2 separate regions of the Homo sapiens genome follow, and region 2 is linked to region 1. The links are contacts of gene promoters, found by promoter capture Hi-C in human tissues and cell types (Jung and others, 2019). All regions are on one chromosome and are shown on one strand. The core of a region is centred on a gene start or on the middle of the fragment in contact, and the rest is flanking DNA. Distances in the headings are between cores, read along the strand shown.

What was found. Contacts are between HindIII fragments. The study calls those that stand out against the background at their distance.
Region 2: a fragment that was not itself captured here is called in contact with the fragment with the promoter of RGS16 in region 1 in 1 of the 25 tissues and cell types used here (heart right ventricle).

What each region holds. Positions count from the first base shown.
Region 1 is chr1:182,602,485-182,606,058 of GRCh38, reverse strand. RGS16 (regulator of G protein signaling 16) reads left to right here and starts at 1,670. Exons shown (of 5, transcript NM_002928.4): 1 at 1,670-1,843; 2 at 2,720-2,830. The coding sequence starts at 1,800. RefSeq lists enhancers at 1,356-1,435, 1,906-1,955, 2,046-2,105. The HindIII fragment of the contact is 25,162 bases long and covers 1-3,574 here.
Region 2 is chr1:181,150,957-181,154,530 of GRCh38, reverse strand. No RefSeq gene overlaps it. Among named protein-coding and RNA genes, the nearest start is that of LINC01732, 22 kb to the left of the region's middle. RefSeq lists a silencer at 1,242-1,526 and enhancers at 1,366-1,575, 13-2,618. The HindIII fragment of the contact is 8,194 bases long and covers 1-3,574 here.

The DNA of each region.
Region 1 (3,574 bases), core at 421-2,920:
AGTATCCCTATTAAGTAAAACTGAAAGCTATTATAACATTTATTGACTGCTGACTACATGTTGAGCACTGTCATATAAGCACCTTATATGTTGTCACGGATGCTGTGCGGTGCCACCCAGATCCCGTCTTGGGGACTGTGATCATCATTTCCCAGGGTGTTAGTCTCTCTCCAGGAATTGCTCTTGACAAAGGGCACTGCCTTAAGATTAGGCTGTCTTCTTGGGCAGCTGTATGCAATGAATGGTCTTTATGGGGTTACCAGGGCCTTGTCCTCTTGCTTCAGTGGACAGTTCCAAAGGGCCAGCTGAGCTTCCGGGCATTCCTTGGAACCAGCTGGGGTCTCTGTTGAAATGGCATGGCCTTCAACTCCTCCCTCTGCCCAGACCTGCTTTCTTTACTCCCTCTTAATTCTGATAACTCTCCCCAGTAAACCTCCTGCATGCAAGTGTCTACCCGAGTCTAGTTCCTAGGAACTCAAACTAAGAATTAATTTATTTAGTTCTCACAACCACCTTATGAAATAAGTTGTTCTCTTCGTAGAGACAAGGAAATGGAGGCATAGAAAGGTTAAGCAGTTTGCCTCGTCTCCCATCAGTAGCCAGTTAACAGTGAACGTGGCCTTCCTGCAGCTGGGTCTTCAGCAGGTCACCTGGCAGAGCCATGACTTGAAACCTGAAAATCTAACTCTAGACCCTGTACTTTTAACCTCACATACAGCCTCTTAATAGCAATCCCAATGCCTTTATGGGAAGATGAGGTGAGAGGAAGGGCATTTATTACCTTTATGTCAGAGATGGAGACAATAAGGTATTAACTGCTTAAACCCAGGATCGTCCACAGGTATAGCCGTGACCGGGTACTAACCTTTGTGTGTGTGTGTGGTGTGTGTGTGTGTGTGTGTGTGTGTGTGTGCAATGGAAAAAGAATGGCAAATTCACATTTGAATTTTGGAGCCAACACTTACTAGCTGCACATCTTTGAGCAAGTTATTTAATAACTAAGACTTTGAGCAAGTCTTACTTATGTGCCTAGCACATAGTAGGTGTTCAATAAACTACTCATCCCTATTCCACTTTTCTGTCATCTCCAACTGTGATCTTGGACAAGTTTATTTAGCTTTCTGATTCTCGATTTCTTCATCTATAAAATGGAGATGATGATGAAGAGCTTACTTAGCCCCGTGTCCATCATGGTAAGAGCCTCGTAAAGGGTACTTATCAGTATAATCAGATGCTGTTTTGCCCAGGTTTGCACCCTGTGCGCCTGTCCTCAGGACCCAGCAGGCTCAGACTTGCCTGCGATCAAAGAAAGCCCTGTGTGCCTCCCAGACCCACCACCCCCGTGCAAACTCTCTCAACACGACACCGCTGCGTGACTTTCCTGCTGTTACTAGAGGTCGGCAGGTACTTTTCCCTAGGAAACTGGGTGTGCACGTCTCATCCCCGTGCCAATTCTCTTGCCGCTTTTCCTTCCACACGCGGCGTCCTCTGGGCGGAGGGTGCAGCTCCGCGTGCTCCAGCTGCCGCGAAAGTTGCACCCGGCCCAGTCTGGCTGCGGGCCCCGCCTCCGCCTTCTCAGCGCCCAGCCCCACCCTCCGATTGGTCAGCAGTGCCCAGCCCCGCCCCGCTCCTCCGAGGGGATTTAAAGCAGCGGCCGCTCAGTCTGGGCGCTTGCAGGCTGCTAAACCCAACCGCAGTTGACTAGCACCTGCTACCGCGCCTTTGCTTCCTGGCGCACGCGGAGCCTCCTGGAGCCTGCCACCATCCTGCCTACTACGTGCTGCCCTGCGCCCGCAGCCATGTGCCGCACCCTGGCCGCCTTCCCCACCACCTGCCTGGAGAGGTAAGGGGAGGTTGTCCAACTGCTTGGGGGAAGTCCCACCAACTCTTAGGGAGTGGAGCGGCAGGCCTGGGGACCTGGGTGGGCGCGGGGATGGGGCGCTAGAGGCTTGAGTAGAGAGGTAGAAGCGCACTTGATGCCACGTGCTCAGATTCCAGGAGCAGGGAGAAAGCAAGGGGAAGGGAAGCAAGGGCCCGCGGCTTGCTGCCATCCCCATCCTCTGACAAACTGCAGTCGTGCTCAGGTGACCTGCTGAAGACCCGGCTGCGGGAAGGCCACGTTGACATTTCCAGGCAGCACTGAGCCTGCCCATTTCTTAAGCATTTGTTTTTCATTCCTCAGACCAGAGCTAGGGGCATTGCCTCCTCTGCCCCTGGAAGACAGGGAGATTTTTTTTTTTTTGGTGGGGTGTGTGGGGGTGGGGGCTCCCACTGTTGAGGGTGTGTCCATATTCCAGAGAGCTACTCAACAGCTTCCAATCCTTACTGGCTGGGAAGGAAAAAGTAAAGATGAAGGCAGGAATCAGTTTCCCACACAGTTCAGAAATACTTCTGAAAAGAATGCTGAGTTCTTTTCTGAATCAACAGGCACGAAGAGAGATCAGTGTGACTTTAGGGAAAAGCCCATATATGCAGCGTGTGTATTACCCAGAAAGTGTAAGACCTACCACAGCATAGCTCAAACATTGCTTTTGTTGCTTTGGGGTTGATGATGCTGATAAGAGAAGCACTCTTGGCCTGGGGACAGCCAAGAGTTTCCAGGAACTCTTGAGGCTAAAGTTTGGGTGGCACCACCCAGAGCTCTTCTGGGACCCATAAACCTCTCCACACTGGCTGAGCAAATGAGAGAATGCTTTCATGTTCCTGATTTGTTTTTCAGAGCCAAAGAGTTCAAGACACGTCTGGGGATCTTTCTTCACAAATCAGAGCTGGGCTGCGATACTGGGAGTACTGGCAAGTTCGAGTGGGGCAGTAAACACAGCAAAGAGAAGTAAGTGTTGCTGACCAGCTCAGGGCTCCGAGAGGGAAGGGAGTGGGAAGGGAGTCATGAGGAGGGAAATACAGGGAGAAGCCAGGACACGCTAAGTGGACCTTGGCAACACCTCCCTAGAGATTTTAGTGGGACTTGTTGCTGGTCTGTTATGACTACTTGGCTCATGGGTGAGTGGGTAGGTGGCTCCAGGGCTCCAAGTCCATCCACGGATGAGGGCACACAGGGCATGAATGCCTAGTTCCCAGACTCTCCCACCTCGGGATTCATTGCACGTGCATCCAGGGCTAGGACAGAATCCAAGACCACTTGAAGTTTTCTAGTATGCACCTTGCCTAGAAACTCTTTCATATTGGCTATCAACTGTACCAAACTCTGGAGTTATGTGTAGATGTAATCTCTATTTATGAGGACCTTATTTCCTTGGGAAGGTGTACAAAACAAATCTTTGAGAGTCAGGGGAATTGAAATAATTTTTGGACAGAGACGAGACAGGCTTAGAGATATTGACTGAGGACTAAAGAGTCCCTGGCTTTGATTTCTGGTTGCTGAATTGTGCTCTAGAAAGCACTACTGCTTACCCTAAGTCCAACTAAGAGTTTGAGGTGTCAGCTTCAGCAATCACCAAGCAAGCCTTTCTGTGAATTTTATGCAGTTTTCCATCAGAGTTCTGGCTAGAATTTGTACTATGCTTTGGTTTGTTGATTTTTTTTCTTACTCTTTTTTTTTCTTTTTGTCTTTTAG
Region 2 (3,574 bases), core at 705-3,204, 1.5 Mb after region 1:
AAGGTGAACCAGAACCTTCTCAGGGCCCAGAAGTTGCTTTGAAAAAATTCTCTCAACACTTGAAAAACTCATTTAAATATCAATGGAAACACACACCTACCTGCCTAGATGGGTTTCTTAACAACCAAGGTCAAAAGTTTCCCTATTGGATCTTGAATCTAAGAGGAAAAAAAGAAACCACCAACTCTTTCTCATTCAAATGTTCATAAATAATAATATTATTAACAATAATTATAATAGCTACCATAAGGCTGGGCACGGTGGCTCACACCTGTAATCCTAGCATGCCTGTAATCCTAGCATTTTGGGAGGCCGAGGCAGGTAGATCACCTGAGGTCAGGAGTTCGAGGCCAGCCTGGCCAACATGGTGAAATCCCGTCTCTACTAAAACTACAAAAATCAGCTGGGGGTGGTAGTCGGTGCCTGTAATCCCATCTACTTGAGAGGTAGAGGCAGGAGAATTGCTTGAACCCAGGAGGCAGAGGTTGCAGTGAGCCGAGATTGTGCCACTGTACTCCAGCCCGGGCAACAGAGTGAGACTCCATCTCAAAAACAAAACAAAACAAAACAAAAAAATAGCTACCATAATGCCATCTGATGTATGTTTTCAGTGCTTTACATATGTCATCTTATTTACATTTTACAACAGTTCTAAGATGGAAATATCACTCTACATTTTAAAGATGAGAAAACCAGGCTTCGAAGGGGTTACATAACTTACTTAGGATCACACTTCTTTCTAAGTGGAGAAGCTAGGATGTCACACCAGCTCCGATTTAAAACCTGTGTATTTTTTCAGGATAATACCTTGCCTCTTTTGCACACTCCTCTGCCCTGACTTACAGCAATAAGATGGTTCTGCCTCTCATGACAAAACTTATTTTCTAGGCAGAGCAAGTACGTCTGCTGTGGTCCACTCTCAATTAGGTAGAAGTCCAGCCTGGAATTGTGGCACTGCAATGCAGCAGGCCACCTGGCCACAGAAGGCCTTTGCCTGTAGAAGCCATATGGATGAAGAAGACTCTGAGCCAAGCACTAATGCAGAGAGGGGATGGAACAGGGGTGGGGGCTGGGGAAGGAGGGAGCTGGCACAGCTGCTTCCGAAGGGGACGTTACGATGGGCCATCAGTATTGACCACTAAGCCTGAATGTGCTGGACACACCAGTCACCCATGCCAAGCCCATTAAGTTCATCTCAGCTGTCTGGCAACTGCCCTCTAATGAAACAAGCCAACAACTTCCTATATTTGAGGTTTCAGTTAGTGTTGTTGGCCAAGTTTCAGTGGGAACCAGAGAAGACGACCACACGGGGGCTGTAGGCCCTGAGAGCAGCAGCCCAAGCCGACCTCAGAGCGCCTGCCAGCTGGGCAGATTATCAGCGTCCTGCTGCAGAGAGATAAGGAACGTTCTGATCCAGCCCCGAGAAGTGCAGGGCTTTATATAGCAGCTTGAGTAGGCTGCAAGGGAATGTCCTGGCCGAAGGCTTCTCCGTAGCCAAGAGAGAGGGGAGTGGGTGGAGAGGAAGGCGGGAGCTTTATAAATAACCCGATGTGTGCTGATCTGCTCAGCGGCCTTGTCTTAGCAAAGCCTGAGGCCTGGGGGAGGAGAGGGACATTTACAGATGACTTTTATTTTCTTTATCACTTCTCTATATTTTCTAAGTTTTCTACGATGAACTTGAACTCCTTTTATAATCAGCAAGTATGAATACAATTTTAAGAAAGCAAAAAAGAGAGGCATAAAAAGAATTCCTTTGGTTGGAGATTTTAGTGACCATCTTTACCCACTCAGAGGTTCCCAAACAAGCCCCAGTGCTCTCCTCCCTTCTCTGGTCTCTCCCATTGGGCCCCCTGGGGTGCCTGTACTCACCTATGATGCAGGATCTGACCAGTTTTCTTAGCTCCTCCCGGGTTCCCGCATTCCCCATACTCTCCCCCTGCTCCCACTAATCCAAATGTGGCTGTCCTTGGCCTTATTGTTTTTAAAAAAGGTGTCCAGGTCCCTCATCTCTGCTAGGGTACATAAGGGTTACTTGGGTATGTCCCCTGTGCCTGCTACACTAGCTTAATAATGGGTAAAAAGCCATGGAGTCCCTGTACAGAGTGTGGTTTATACTCTCTGTGCCTCAGGGTCCCTTTTCTATAAAATGGTGATAACAAGACCACCTACTTCATAGAGGTCACATTAAGATTAAAATAAGACAGTGGATGTAAACTGGCTGACACATTGGAAATGGCCAATTAAATATTAACTAATTATCACTCCACTGAGCATCCCTCCTCACACTCAGGCCCTGAATGACCACACCTACCAAATGTGACCAGACAGATTTTCACTGTTTCCAAAAATAACTCCTCCCAGGAGGTGTGAAGATTCACCACTGCAACTCTGGCACTGATTCAAAGCAGGAGTTCCAAAAATGTTTTGCGAGGTGACAGGCTCCCAGAATCACAGTCAGCCTTCACAGTGCCCCTTATACGGCTGCAATCCTCATTTGGATGTGTGAGTCATGGTAGGGCTACCACATAAACAGATAAATGAATAAACATGTTGTGACTTTGTAGTAACGACCTCATGTAAGCTAAGTTCAGCTCATGACTCTGGGGCAATTTTTAGGACACAAAAGTAGATAAAATATCAACCGATCCCTATTTTTTGAGCAAGCGCTATGTGCAAAAAGGCACGGCGCTAAAATGCAAAAATGGAACATTTTAAAAAGATGAAAGCTTCTGCTTGGAAAGAGATTACACCCTAATCGAGGAAGTAAAATGCAGATACAGGAATAGAAAGCACACTCAGCAAAGCAAGATATGATCCATGGAGGTGATAAGGTGGAGAGTTCAGAAGAGCACGCCCGCTGGGTTCTGGAGGTCAAAGCAGCCTCGTGGAGGAAATTAATACCCTTGATAAGTGGATGCCAGGCCTTGTAGAATTCTGATGCAATCAGGATAGAGTCTGAGAGAAAGGGTCTCACATGTCAATGTCAACAAAGCATGGTGCTAGGTACTCATATAAGTACATCATCTTTTTTTGATCTTGACAAGAATCTAGTGTGATGTTACCATTCCCATTTCACAGATAAGAAGACAGTGGCTCAGAGAAGCTCAGAGAGGTTAAGTTATATGCCCAAGGTCATTCACAGCAGAGGCAGGATTCAAACCAGGTTCTACCCGGCTCCACAGTCCATATTCTGGCTTCTACCATCTGGCACTGCTATGGCCTCCCTTAAATCTGGCTCCCAGAACAGACCTGGGCTGTCTGTGACCAGGAGCAGGGCTTTCATTCCATGGCTGTGGCCTTTTAGTAGAGAGGACACTGCCCAGTGTGGCTGACAAATTCTTTGGCAATATATTGACTTTACATTGCCTGCCAGTAACATGGGCTAAGGTGTAACAATTTCTAAGCCTAGATCAAAGTCACAATTTTGATCACAGGTTACAATTTTGTATATTTAATCCCCTGCTTCTACTTTGTAGTATTTTTGTCAGTTCAGCAATTCACCTCTTTTATCACCACTACAATCTATAATAAGCACATGGATTTTTCAGGAATGACATAGGAATAAGATAGAAAT